3 separate regions of the Homo sapiens genome follow, and regions 2 and 3 are each linked to region 1. The links are contacts of gene promoters, found by promoter capture Hi-C in human tissues and cell types (Jung and others, 2019). All regions are on one chromosome and are shown on one strand. Each heading gives the region's core, a stretch centred on a gene start or on the middle of the fragment in contact. The rest is flanking DNA. Distances are from core to core; before and after follow the strand shown.

Region 1 (4,821 bases), core at 1,285-3,784:
AGATTAAGTGAATATATTAACATTCCATGGGTAAAATTACAGAAGACATGGTTAGGAATAAAATTTCCTCATCTCCTTGATGTCTTCGTCCCTCATATTAAGTCCTTAATTTGCAGAGTTAGCAACATTCTTAATTCCTTGTACAAGAAATTTTCTTGTGGAAAATAGTTTTACCTGTTAGTCTCCACACGTATGTCTGATCTTTGTGATACGGTATCAGGCATCCCCTGACCTGTTGGTTTGTCATCTTTTCCATTTTATCTTTTCATCTATTTTGCAAACTCATCAAGATGACTTCCACTTTCCAGCTTCTCCATTATGTACCTAAGGGTTGTCCTTAAATTTTTGTCCAACCTAAAAAATAACAATCACTAAATGATAGAACTCTATAATAACTAAACGATAGAATGATAGAAATAATTTCCAGCATTCCTGTCGGAGTGATAGAAATCTCCTAGCCTACTTTGAAGCAAATCAAAAGCAACTGTGAAGTTAATTTAATGAAATTATTTTCTCTTTTTGAGGCCCACTGTTGCAACTTTCCTTATCTCCAAGCTAGTAGAAAATGCTGTTGCTTTGTGGTCGTTTTTTTCAAAGGACTTAGGGAGGGATCATTTTCTCTAACCAGCTCATCAAATTCACAGAGGTCTACAGAAGTGAAGTGACGTGCCCAAGAGCTCATGGCAAGTAAATAGTGTCTTAGTCTAAATACTTCCAGAATGAGTATTCCTAGACCTTGTACTTATCTCATTGTCCTATGCTCAGGCAAACGTTTGCAAACAGCAGGGAAAACAACTGCAGATTGAGACTTGAGGGAGAAGGGTGGGAGATGGTCCTTAGCAGATCCCTGGGCCTGGGGATCACCTGCTCCCTGGGATCAAAATAGTGAAACAAGCTATTCATAAGTACATCAAGGACGAGTAGGCCATTGTTTTCAGAACCAGCTGTGGAGAATCTGCTCGACAGTGGCCTTGGAACAGCTGCGGCTGCTGCACCAAGAAGGGAGGGCAGGAGGGCGGAGCGGTACTGGTGGAAGGGTGAGCTAGGAGGAAAGGCTGCAAGGACCCTGCCACGCCACCTCCCGGCAAACCAGGAAGTATTTTTGCAGTAAGTGCATTGGACTGAGCCACCTTTTGAACCTACCCGAAGTGTTAACAGCGCACAGCAGGCCTTAGATGGGTGCAATAACTGCAAACTCTCAACGGGCTGGTGCCTAAGAGGCTACGGGCTGGCAGCTAAATAGAGCCCGGCGCAGTGAGTCGCGTTGTCCGAAAGTACACAGAGTGGAGCCAGCCGACTGTGCTGTCTTTGCAAACCGTGACCGAGCAAAGTCCGCGGTAAACAAGCCTCGCAGCAGCTGCCTCCGGATGAGCGCCCCCTGCTCATTCCTCCACCCAGCATTTCCCACGCGCCCAGCGCTCCGCTCTGCAGCCCCTGCCGTCCTCTCTCCCAGCCCCATTCTCAGATCGCCCCATCTTTTGGCCCAGCCCAGGTCCCAGCCCCCGCGGCTGGCGCACCACACTCACCATCTCTTGCCTGAGGAGGTGAAGCTTGGTTTCTAGCCTCTCCAGGGCGCTAGAGTGGCTACCTCGTGGGGAGCCAGAGGTTGGGGAGGACGAAGAGGAGGACGACAAGGAGGGAGGGAAGCTGCAGTAGCTGCTGCTGCTACTGCAGCCGCCGCCGCCGCCGCCACCACCACCGCTCCCCCCGCAGGGGTCCCTGTCCCTTTCCCTGGGAACCGGCTCCTCCCCACGGAGAGAGCGCACTAGACTCTCGGGTACTTTGCGCCCCAGCTTCAGCTCGATGTCTCTGAGGTCTGGCAGCGGGCTGTCTTCCATGACTTTTCCGGAACGGCGATAATAGTAATAAAACGCAGCAGATGAAAGGCAGCCACGGCTTCGAAGGCTGCTGCGAAATCAGCAGACCTCTCCGGGGGCCAGGGTCTCTATCCTCCGCCGCTCCGGTGTACCGTCCTTTCCATAACCGCCTATGCGGTATCAGCCCTGAAATCCGCACAGGACGCGGGGGGTCGCAGCTGCAGTTCCCAGTCCGCTGCGACTCCTCCGACACTAAGATGATCAAGATCTCCTCATTCTCTCTCTTTTTGGCCACCTCACTGCAAAGTTGAGTTCACTGATATTGCAGACAGAGGGGGAATAAAGAGGGGGAAGTAGTGAAAGAAAAGAGAGGGAAATTAAATCTGTTTTAGCTTTACCAAGGGAAAATTTTCACATTATAAAACCGTCCGTTCACATCCCTGCGCCGCTCACTGACTGCCCATCTGGTACTACGCGACACAAAATAATGATGCAGCCAGAAACGATGTCCTGGGTCGTTTCATTTTCCAGCCATATGCCTCCAAGCTTTCGGGATATCCTGGGTTGTCAGAAATAATCTCTGGTCAGTGAAAGAGGAGTTCGGTCGTGTGCATGGACCCATAAAAAAGAGCTAGTTAGCTTAGCAGGAGTTTAACGGCTTCCTTGATGCAGCAAAAATGTCCTTCTTCCCATTTAGGCTGTTTGATCCAAGTCATTGTGTTCCTCTGAGCCTCGGAAACTTTAAACTCCGCTGGCAGGTGGACCAAACCAGGACCAACCCTTCTACCGTATATCACAGACAAGAAGAGCAACCGGAATTTTCCCAACCCTGTCGCTAGTAGCAGAGTTTCAAAGCCCTGCTTTAGTTAGGAATACCAGTTGATTTTTCAGTTTTCCTGACTAGCTACAACCTTTAAAACAGGTTTTAAAATGAGAGATAGAGGAATGACTTTATATTTGGTGTCTTCGTTTCCCATCTCTCTACCTTCCTCAAAGGAAAAACAAACAGAAAACCTCTCTTTAGAAGACTTTCCTAATAATTTTATTCTAATAAAAAGAGTGAAACAATTTCATCAAAAGTTCAATGGAAATGTACAATCAAAATTAATTATCCTACCAACTGTTACAGTATGCAAACAAAAGTGAAAAATTAAATAGCCAGAATAACTTACATGACTGCTGAGATAGCAGTGAAATTTTAAGAACAAGCAATTGCTGAGATACTTACTTTTATTTTAATTATGGAAGAAAAAATATTGGGAATAACTATTTAAAATGTTGTCTTCTTTGATAATTTATCTATAAATTAATTTATAGATTTTTTCAACTATACAAATTGTACAATTAATTGTATAGTTGAACAATTGTACAATTTATTAATTTGTACAATTGTACAATTCATTAATCTGAAATACTTCTACCAAGTAAGTTATTATGAGCTACATGGATTACAGATCTGAATCAGCATTGAGTTTGTGTCAAAAATGTTTAAGTAGAGGATACTAATTTCAATCCAGTAAACTACAATTTTTGATTTCCATTGAAATATTTCAAAGTATGTGCCCCTCTATTTCTGTGACATATAAGTATTTGTGTTCCTGGTCACTCCGAGGCTCCATTTCCAGAGACATCATTCAGGTTTTACACTTGTAGGAACATAGGTATATACATCTCAGAGTTTGTTTTTATCATATCTGACTCTAGGAAACCTTATACGTAGAGGAAACATACGCATTCTAAATGAAATATTTCATGTCAGGGAAAAAATGCTGAACTTTCTATCAACATGCCAGAAATTTGCATGCTATTTCTCCCTTTTAAAAAGAAATGAAGAAAATAGTTATAAGTTAGATGACCCATTTCAAAGTTAGAACTACCACTTACAGAATCAAGGGAAAACAAGACCAAATCCCAGCTAACTGATAAAACTACATGCTTGGTCCTAAATTTGGAAAAACACAAGCTCGTTGCATAAGAATTGCACTGTGGCATGTAATTATGAAAGGCTTGTGTTTCAGTCAAGAACAGTTTATTATTACAAAACCCTTACAAAGTTCAGCATAAGGCTGGCTAAGTGCAGTTTATAGATGAAATATCTAGCTAGAAATTGGTCAGTAAAAAACAAATGTCAAATTATCGTGTGTCAATATAGAAAAATGGGACACCTCTTCTGCTATGAATCACAGACTGCAAAATCAGTATTTGAGGCTGAGGATAATTTAATATATACGTATATGTATGTATATATGTATATAGTTTTTTAAAGAAGTCTGCAGGAGAAACTCCTCTGAGAGTAAAAGTGTGATGTATATGCAAAGTAACTTTGTTCCAGTGAAATATAAAAAAATGTAAACTTTTGAAGGAAAGCTTAGTATGTCAAGCTTTAAATTTTTTTTCGGTTAAATGCCTATTGACATTTTAGTTTAAAATGAAGACATTTTGAATGATGCTTTAGCTAGTTTTCAGAATATATTAAAATCATTGAATGTTTATGGATCTATAATAGATTGTTGTTAATGCTACCATAACTGCTTTATGTGGTTTAATCTGAGGACATTTCTTACTCAAACTATTTGAAAACTTTTTTTTTTTACTTTGGTTCTTGAGCATGTGTTTTGTTTGTTTGTTTTCAAGATTCTCAAGAAACTGAGTCAGCCTGGGCAATATAGCGAGACCCCACCTCTTCAAAAAATTTAAAAATTAGCCAAGCATGGTGGCATGCACTTGTAGTCTTAGCTAAGGGGTTAGGGGTGAGGGAGTGAGGCCAGAAGATTGCTTGAGTCCAGGGGTTCGGGGTTGCAGTAAGCTATTATCAAGCCACTGCCCTTTAGTCTTTGAGACAGAGTGAGAAACTGCCTCAAAAAACAAAAACAAAAATAAAAACAATAAACATACAAAAATGCCCACAAACAACAAGGACAAAAATGTGTGAGATGTTTTACCAATTGCTCTTAGCCTGAGAAGCTAATTACATCTTGAGTTGGGGAATCAGTTGAGAAGACTT
Region 2 (4,821 bases), core at 1,169-3,668, 1.6 Mb before region 1:
TTTTTTTTTTTTTTTTATTTGTTTGTTTGTTTGAGGCGGAGTCTCGCTCTGTCACCCAGGCTGCAGTGCAGTGGCGTGATCTCAGCTCACTGCAAGCTCCGCCTCCCGGGTTCATGCCATTCTCCTGCCTCAGCCTCCGGAGTAGCTGGGACTACAGGCACCCGCCACCACGACTGGCTAATTTCTTTGTATTTTTAGTAGAGACAGGGTTTCACCGTGTTAGGCAGGATGGTCTCGAACTCCTGACCTTGTGATCCACCTGCCTCGGCCTCCCAGAGTGTTGGGATTACAGGCGTGAGCCACTGCAGCCGGCCAGGCAAGCAGGGTATTTAAGCCAACGTGGGGCACTTCTAAGTATGGGATCCCGTGTGACTGCAAAGGACACACACCCAGGAAGCCAGCCCTGCTGCCAATATTTAAAAAGCAAAAGATTCTTCAAATAGAGAATCTGGTAACCCTGGGTCTGCATCTCCAAATGGCTGTACATAATGGGCTGGTGCAGAGTATCATCTTGTTGTATTGGTTTGCTGCGCTTGCCATTACAAAATACTGCAGATTGGGTGGCTTAAACAGCAGAAATTTATTTTCTCACAATTCTAGGGGCTCAAGTCTGAGATCAAGTTGTCAGCAGGGTTGGTTTCTTCCGAGGCCTCTTTCTTTGTAGATGGCTACCTACTCCGTCTTCATATGGTCTTCCCTCTATACATGTCTGTGTCCTAATCACTTCTTACAGGGACTCCACCAGTCATACTGGATTAGGGCCCACTTCATAATAACTTAAGTACCCCCTTAAAGGCCCTATCTCCAAATACAGTCACATTCTGAGGTATCAAGGGTGATTTTGGAGTGGCACAGTTCAGCCTGTAACACAGCTTTTCCCTTTGGGGAGGGGTGCAGTGTTCCAAGTCACTGTGCTTACTCCAACCCAAACATGCTCACACACACACAGCATCTCCCCATCCCTGAAGCAGGGGTCGGTTGCTATAGGTCATCTCATTTGTGCTGCTGTTCTTCCTCTGGTTCGCTTCTCTCATTTAGAGAGACCTGCTCCTCCCCTGCCGCACAAGGAATAGTGACAGTGTTCACAACAGGACAAGGGCTACACACTCCCTTCACATCTGTAAAGCTAAGGTTGCTGTTCAAGTGATCCTTCACGGGACAATCCATTTCTACACACACACACACACACACACACACACACACACACAGAGTACCCATTACATAGAGATAACCATTTAAATGCAATGCTGAAGGAAAAAATTGCCATGAGGTATAACTGACTGCTCACCTCAGAAACTAGATTTGGAGATTTTAGGAGAGAAAAACCCTCAGCGACTACATAATTATTCCCCAGGGCTGATCCCACTTAAAAATTCACCTGACTGTACAAGGGATGGCCCTAAATTTCAATGGAAACCCAACCATGTAGCCCCTTAGAGAGACCGTACTCTCAAATTGGTCTTTGTACCTATTTGTAGAAAAATGTTAGCCAGATTATAGCTGAAAACTCTGCTAATTCTGGGGAAGATTTTGGTCTTGTGCCTGGAACTATTGAAGCATATATTCACACCTACCACATGTAACACTTAGTAGCAGAATTTCCAGCACAATACTTTAGTACTTTATTTTTAAAAGAAACAGAGCAGAGACTGAAGCCCTGTTCACTCTGCAGCTTTCTTGCAGGAGGCTCCACAAAAGGTGGTGGTGAGGGAGGTTCTGTGCTCAAAAGAGCTATTTTTTTATTTTTAAAAGGAAAGGAGACACTAAAATCTTTGCTCACAATTAGGGAACTCATGATGCTGAAACATAACATTTGCACCTGCCTGTAGATTGAAAAAATAATGTCAAATTTGCAAGGCTCTGAGAAAATAGGGTGCGGTGTATTAGTGATTTAATCAATCCCAATCAACATTAGAGTTCAGACAACACCTTACAGACATCTTACTGTAACCCCTTTGGTTTTTAGAGAAGGAAGGGGAGGTTGGAACATTTTAAGTGATTTGCCCCAGATCAGCTCTCCACCTAAAATGCAGGTCTTTTCTTTCAGATGAGCGTACTTTCCACTGCACCAGGCTACTTCTAAACAGGCATTGTCCTGTCAGCCTCAATTGCATGCAAAAAAAAAAAAAAAAAAAGACAAAACCCCTCTCGCTCTCCACTAGAGTCTCTATTTGGACTCTAGAACGGACAAAGCAACGGCTATTTCAACTTCAACTCCCTTAGCAAATGGAAGAAAAGGCATCTGACCCGTGGACTCCTCCAGCTGGTCCCCGGGTCTCACCGCCTGCGGGTCTCCACGTCAGCTCGCAGGCATCGGCGGCCAGTCGGACACCAGGGGGCGCAGCAGCCTTTGTCCTGACAGGTATTGAAGAATGAAGCCAGACTGGGCCGTCAAGAAAAATCTGACTTCCCTCCTTTCAGTTTCTCTCATTGGAACCAGCCCACTCCCCAGCCCCCTTCATTCGCCTTAAAGCCATTTTCTGCTTCCTCCTCATGCTCAGATTCTCAGGGTGCAGGGATGCAGCAGTTCAGAGACCCCTCTCCAGGAGCTCCCCCGCTCTGCCAAGGACACCCTAGCAGTGGTCCACCATTTGTTCTCACTTGCAGGCCTCTGAACTCAGGATGTTTTTGGCTATTCTTCCTGAATGAAGAACCCTATAGAACAGGACCAGCTTCCCAGAAGAACTGTCACATCTATCCTCTAATATCCCTCCCCTTTCCACGCACAAAAACAATCACAAATTAAATAACATGTCTGGGAAGCTCACGCGGCCTGGACCTATCCCTCACCACCCTCTGTCTGCCCCTACAGTCTAAGGACAGCCTTTGGTAGTAGCTACCTACCCAAAGGGACAGGCTGCAGCACCTTCACCATACCTCTGCCATTCTCACCAACCCATGGTGCACCCCAAGCAGGATAACTGCCTCCTTGTAACCCCACCAGCTTGCCTCTGTGTGCCCTCCAGCAGAAAGAAATCCACTTGACCCTTGCCAAAGTCTCCTGATTCCAAAGATTCAGTAATAAATGAGCATCCTCTTCTACTTTAAGACATACTCCTAACCCTGCCCCTATAGACACAAACGGACACAATGCAAACCCTCAGATGTCAAAAACGTACTCTTTCACAAAGACTCCTGAAACTCCTCTGTTCCAGAGGGAAAGGCTACAGGGTCCTTCCTATGCAGGCCTTTGAAAAGCAGCTGTATGTTTACATAGAGAGATTCCAAGTTTACACAGTCCTTTCCCTGTCTGTTATTGGAGCCTCTCAACAACGCTGAGAGATAAGCAGTGAAATCTAAAGCTTAGAGGCTTGCCTCAGGACCAGACCTAGTACAGCGTAGAAACAGCACTGAGGGCCCGGGTGACAGAGCATGGAAACACTTGCTTGTCCAATTGCACCAAGGCCTGGAAGAAATGCAGCCACCATAGAAGATCATCAGATTACATACACTGAGGGAGCCTGTGGTCTCAGGAGCCAGGCAGGGGCAGGAGGAACAGTGCAAAAGAAGCGGTGATGTCAATTCTGACCCGACTCTTCTTTTTACCTGTGGCCTCGCTCACTTCTTTATTTCCACGTTCATCTTAGCTAATGTAGAGTACCGGGAAGTGCTGAGCCCGGAGACAGGTAGCCATGGTTTGTTATCTTGGTGGTGAGCCTCCCAACTCCACACTCATAAAATAATGATAACATCTATTATATATACAAATACATCACCAAAAAAAAATGAAAAAATCAGTGTAATTCCAGGAGACGGAGCAGGGTAGGAGACTTTTACTTTCATTTTATGCTGTTTTCTATTATTTGAAGTATCTGGATTTACGCATGTGTTCCTTTTATGATTTTATTTTTAAAATTTTATTGGGGTTAATGATGCTCTTTAGCGTTGCTGCAAAGATGACTTATGTAACATATCTGGCATGGTACGTGGTCTGGTGCACAGTTGATGCTCACTCAACAGTAGTTTATTGTTAGCTATATACTTCCGTCAGAACTGTGGGCAAATGGGACCTCAAATCAAGAGACCCGGGGTCTGTGGCACACTCTGCTCTCAGATCCATGTATGCCTTTTAGTAAGTCAAGTCCCTTGGAATCTATGTAAACATAGTAGCTGCTTTTCAAAGGCCTGCATAGGAAGGAATCTGTGCCTCAGTTTCTTTATCTGTAAAGCAATGAGACACAAGCCACTTGATTTGAAAAATGGTGAGAAGGACAGGACAACATGCTCACCACCCAAAATGCCTGAGATACCTTCTAAAATTCAGTCACAGTCTTTGCAAGGGAGGCTTCTTAAGTTTGAGTTCATCAGACAGAAACTCTTTCTAGGAGAAGTTGTCATCTAGGATAGACAGAAAGGGCTGGAGATAGCTGAATAAGTTCTAAAGCAAGTACAGAAATTAAATCAGGAAACAATGTGTGAACAGTATAGGGCCATCAGCGTAGGATGGGAGGTGAGAAAAGAAGGTTTGAGGTGTTCCTTGAGTGCAGTTGGCACCACGATCATTTCCTGACAGGGGAGATGCCCTTGGTAGGCAGAAGGGGTGTGATTCAAGGTCCAGGCATCCCTGGCCCGGACACAGCCAGCCCTAGCCCAGCTCCCTAGGATGAGAGTTCTGTATGGGGCACAGGGCTGGCGCTGTTGAGACCAGGCCTCCCTAGGCAGATCCAGGAGCAGAGCTGCCCTTTGGACAAATTACTTTCGGCAAAGTCAGAAGGAACCCACTGCCCAAGAGAATTGGGCTAAAGCACCTCTGAAGTTTCTTCCAGCATAAACTTTATCTTAACAACAACCAAAAAAAGTGGGGAGACTGGACCATAGGAG
Region 3 (4,821 bases), core at 1,548-4,047, 1.4 Mb before region 1:
ACAAATGTAATGCGGTTGTAATTTTGAGAAAAGAAGCCTGCAAACAAAAATAGTTAGTAGTTTAATTTTAGGTTTACAGTTTTGACATTGTAACCCTAAATTACATCGTATTTGGAAAAATCTCTTCAACTTAGACTTTTTTTTTTTTTTTTTTTTTTTACCCTAGTGCTACAAGATGACTCTATATTAAAGTTTCTCTGGAGATAAAATAGCAATATTTGTCAATCTATATAATAGTTAATATTCAAAGTAACGTAATTTATCTGCATCTTAGATTTGCTCTTCTTGTTGAAAATACTGGTAGTTTTAAATACGTAGAATCAAAAACAAACAAATGCAAAACTCCTTTAAACATGGCAGATAGGGAGTTGTGAGAGGCTGTGCCAAACTTCATAAGGTGCAGCATTTAGGAGAGATGAAGGGCTAAAGCCATCAGAGTTTCTACCAAATTGGGTGATCTACATGAGCTTCATTAGCCACCCCTTAATGAAGAGCCAGCACTGAAGAAATGTTTTTGCAGCAGGAGAATGAGGCAACTATTTAATGGTATCTAGTTAAAGCCAGAAGGAGACCATGAGAGGAATGATTTTAAGTTCCCTAGAGGGCAAGAAGTGTTTCTCCATGTGGTACTTCGAAGAGTAAGGTAAACAAATAGGTACTTAATAAATGTCTTTTGATGATGGAGAAGTTAAAAGGAGGGTACATCAATAACTGAAATTACCTGGACTTAACAAGGCTAAAAGTTAATAGAAATCTAGGCATCCACTGTGATCAAGGCCAATGCATTTAAATAAGTCCACTTCCAATTTCAGCTCCTGGGGAAAAGAGTACATTTCAGATGCCAAACCCCCAACCAAATCTGGTTGGTAGCAATAGGCTCTTTTGGCCCTTGGTAAAATTCCCAGTAATCCAGATACCAAAATACACTATTAAATACTGAAGAAAATTCATTTGTTCATTGATTGGGTGACATCTATAGTCATCAGTCTCTCAGGAGGTTAGAAGCCCAACTTGGAGTTCTACAGCAGTGCATTGCTGTTTGCCATGCACCTTCAGCGTCTCACATTACTGTATGCAAAGTCTTTTTCAAGCACCTGATAAAAGCTGTGTTGGCTTAGACAGAATGCCAGTGGGTGGAATCTGGGTTTTATTGGTGCTACTTGAGGGAAAACACTTAGTTCAGGAAGGCACTGAAAACAGAAACAAGGTTTTGAGGTTGTTATTTGGAGTCAGACTCTTGAGTATATCATGGAAACAAAAGAATTTTAAACTTAAAAAAAATCATTTTATTTTCTATTTGGCTTCAATATGGTGATAATGTCTGTCCCTATTTCCTGTACAACTGGCCTTTTTCTTCAGTATTTTTCCTCTGGGAAAAAGTATGCCTTCCAAATACCACCTTGGAGCTCTCAGCTCATTATTCTTATTCCCTTGCTAGGCAAAGCAACCACTGCCTTCTTAAAAGTTCGATGAAATCTACAGAGTAATACAGGAACTCCCAGCAAACACGGAAGAAACTGAGCCTGGGATGGAAAGTACAGCTTTACTGGCAAAGGATCAGGGACCTAAAAGCTTACATTTTTGTGCTCTACCACTGCCCATATATATTTACTTTCTTACCTTCATTCTGACTTAACCCAGATTTACTTACCTATCTATTTTATCTCAGTGGCAGGAGTATTTTTTGTAAGTGTTCTCATGTCTTTTGGGGGAAAGAAACAAAGTATAAAATAATAAATCAATATTGACATGGTGAAGTAATATCTTGAATGAGATAATTAGCAATATGAGTGTTTGGAGCAGGATTTTTGATGAGTCTTCCAAAATAATATAAATTTAGAGTTTGCTTAGTTTGTGTCTTTTTTTTTTTTTTTTTTTTTGAGATGGAGTTTCACTCTTGTTGCCCAGGCTGGCATGCAATGTTGCAATCTCGGCTCACCGCAACCTCCACTTCCTGGGTTCAAGTGATTCTCCTGCCTCAGCCTCCCAAGTAGCTGGGATTACAGGCATGCGCCACCACGCCCAGCCAATTTTGTATTTTTAGTAGACACAAGGTTTCTCCATGTTGGTCAGGCTGGTCTTGAACTCTTGACCTCAGGTGATCCACCCACCTTGGCCTCCCAAAATGCTGGGATTACAGACGTGAGCCACCGCGCCCAGCCTAGTTTGTATATTTTAAAAGAATTTCCTAGCATTATTGAATAATTAGATAATGTATATCTTATCTTTTGGTTGCTCTTGCCCATTCTGGAAATAATTTATAAGAAGATCTAATTTAGATTCTATCTGCTGTTAAGTGTGAATTAGTGTGAGTTGCATATAACATATATAAAAGCTGTAACCTGGGAAAAAGTTATTATCTGGAAGCTTTAGAAATTAATGTTATTCTTTCTTAAGTATCATCAGGAAATTAATCAAAATGGCCACCTTGATACCAAAAATAAGGTTTTGGGGCATAACATCCTTATGAATTCAAATGTTAGTCATTTCACATATCTTCCACTTTATTTCATTAAGTCCTTCCTAGTAGACACTGTTCAAACATTATTCACCATTTACTAATGCTGTTACAACATTATTTTAGAAGATGGATATGGATAGCTGTTCTAGCTTTTAAAGTTTTCAGTGTAAAGCACCATGTGCTAAACATTGGCCAGGATATTCTGTATGAAATGGCTTTAGTTACAGGCCTGTCTGACAACAGTTTTCATCAGAAAAGTATGCTTATTTTCCTTTCTTTTAGAAAATTTGGCTGAAAGCAATTTTGGCAAAGTCAGCATAGCCTTAAGTGTCACATGAGAAAGATGGAATTGAAGTGGCTGTTAGGTAGACCTGACCTGGGTATGGTGACTGTGGTGACATGAGTCCTTTGGAGGACACAGCGTCTCTCCAGCATCTCTCTTCTGAGGTTCACTCTCTTTTGTAGGGGCTTACCCCCTTGTCAATGCTACACACACACACACACACACACACACACACACACACACACACACAGAGGGAGAGAGAGAGAGAGAGAGAGAGAGAGAGAGAGAGAGAGAGAGAGAGAGAAAGAATGGAGAACCTTCCTTCTTACCTGTGGATACAGATGCACCTTGGCAGAGCCCACTTGCCTCCTGCTTCCGGCCTTTCTCAAACCAGACCTTTTTTAGTTTCTACTTCATCCACACAGAGACTTAATAGTGGCCAGTAAAGTGACTTGAAAAACGAATACATGCCACCATGTTAATGCACACCTTTCCAGTGGGATAAGCTCAGCCTGAGTGCCAAATTGTATTTCTTTGCACATGATTATCAGTTAAAATTATTTATATAGTTTGTTATTCATTAAATTTATTTTAGGAAAGTACACAAAGAAAAAATTGTGACCAGGCAATTAGGTAGCTTCTAAGGTAGCCATTGCCAACCTATCTTTTGTTATGAAGATGAAGTCTGTTATTTCTTAATATTGAACATTATTTTTGACTAAATTTAAATTCTACTGTATGCAATAGAATTGAAAATATACCAGCTTTATCGTCATTACCAAGAGTGATGATGATGATACCTCCTATTTATTGCCCACCCCCCATGAACAAGGTATCGTGCTGAGAATTTACATAAAGCAATTCAGTTAATTCTCAGTACAGTGCTGCTTGGGAGAGATTGCTATTTGCCTTTTACAAGATGATGAAAGAAGCTTGGAGATGTTGAGTCATTTATCTGAATTACAAAGCAAGTGAGTGGGCAAGATAGTTGAAAATTCTTTATTAAATTTGCTTTGATAACAAAAGTAATGTTTGCTTTTGGTAATACAATTGGAGTATTACAGAGGAAGTTATGCATACCATAGGAAGCTAGACTGGTTTTCAGTACATTATCCAGAAGAACAAAAAGTACTGTTAACAAATGGGGCATCTTTATCTTTATCTGACTTCTTGAGAATAATCTTTGTAAATTATCTGATCACTTTTTAAGTAGTAGTTTTTTTAAATGACTTTTTGATGACATACTTTCAACTTTCTTTGCAATAGAATCAAGGTGCATTTTAAATTTAGAATAAGCGAGGATTTTCAGGACCATATATCTTTTTACACATTTGCTTTCTGACAATTTTTCACCCCCAAATACTCAAACTTTTACTTATTTATTAGTTAACTTTTAATAATCGTTTCTTCTTAACATAGTCTTAGTATATGCAGATGTTTAAGGTTTTCATTTTCACTGCTTTTCATTTAATACCATTAAATGTATACCAGAGGTTACATTTTTCAAGTTTATTGTTCTGAGTATTTATGCCTGCTCTTTTTCTTCGGTTCCAATATGCTGGACAGTCTATGAGAAACTGATGTGAAAGTTGATGTCTTTGGAGATTACGTAAAAGCTGCTTTAGCCATTATTTTTCCATTTCTTGCTCTGCTAAGCACCCAATTGTTGAGCTTGACAGAAGATCATTTTACTGAGCTATTTACTTTGAAAAATTATAAGTAATATACTTACAGAAAATAATTAAATACTATATACAGGTAAAAGTGAAAAGTAAATCTCTTCCTTCTCCTTGTTTCTCCTTTGGCCGTTGCTCCCAAGCCTAAATTTCTTGTTTCCACATTTTCTTAATGGGCATGGAAGCATAGGTATGCATGTGTATACACGTACTTTATGAAGTCAGATCTCTTTAAATTCCAATTGTATAGGATGGCTCTCTGCACTGTGTGTGCCTCCTTCCTGTGTGTACTGGACTGTGGGATAAACAGCTCTCAGCAGGATATTCATATTCAGTAAAATAAATGATGAATTTCCAATGGAAAAGAGAGTCAGGACCAAGAAAATAGAAACAGAGACTGA

The links. Contacts are between HindIII fragments. The study calls those that stand out against the background at their distance.
Region 2: a contact is called between a fragment that was not itself captured here and the fragment with the promoter of LURAP1L in region 1, in 1 of the 25 tissues and cell types used here (dorsolateral prefrontal cortex).
Region 3: a fragment that was not itself captured here is called in contact with the fragment with the promoter of LURAP1L in region 1 in 1 of the 25 tissues and cell types used here (dorsolateral prefrontal cortex).

What each region holds. Positions count from the first base shown.
Region 1 is chr9:12,772,733-12,777,553 of GRCh38, reverse strand. It overlaps LURAP1L (leucine rich adaptor protein 1 like), which reads right to left and starts at 2,534. Exons shown (of 2, transcript NM_203403.2): 1 at 1,527-2,534. The coding sequence starts at 1,838. The region is part of intron 2 of LURAP1L-AS1 (LURAP1L antisense RNA 1); the gene reads left to right. The HindIII fragment of the contact is 5,707 bases long and covers 1,958-4,821 here.
Region 2 is chr9:14,351,168-14,355,988 of GRCh38, reverse strand. All of the region lies in intron 1 of NFIB-AS1 (NFIB antisense RNA 1), which reads right to left. It also overlaps a transcript of NFIB not described here. Among named protein-coding and RNA genes, the nearest start is that of NFIB-AS1, 36 kb to the right of the region's middle. RefSeq lists an enhancer at 1-207. The HindIII fragment of the contact is 7,273 bases long and covers 1-4,821 here.
Region 3 is chr9:14,214,720-14,219,540 of GRCh38, reverse strand. All of the region lies in intron 2 of NFIB (nuclear factor I B), which reads left to right. Among named protein-coding and RNA genes, the nearest start is that of NFIB, 97 kb to the left of the region's middle. The HindIII fragment of the contact is 4,207 bases long and covers 694-4,821 here.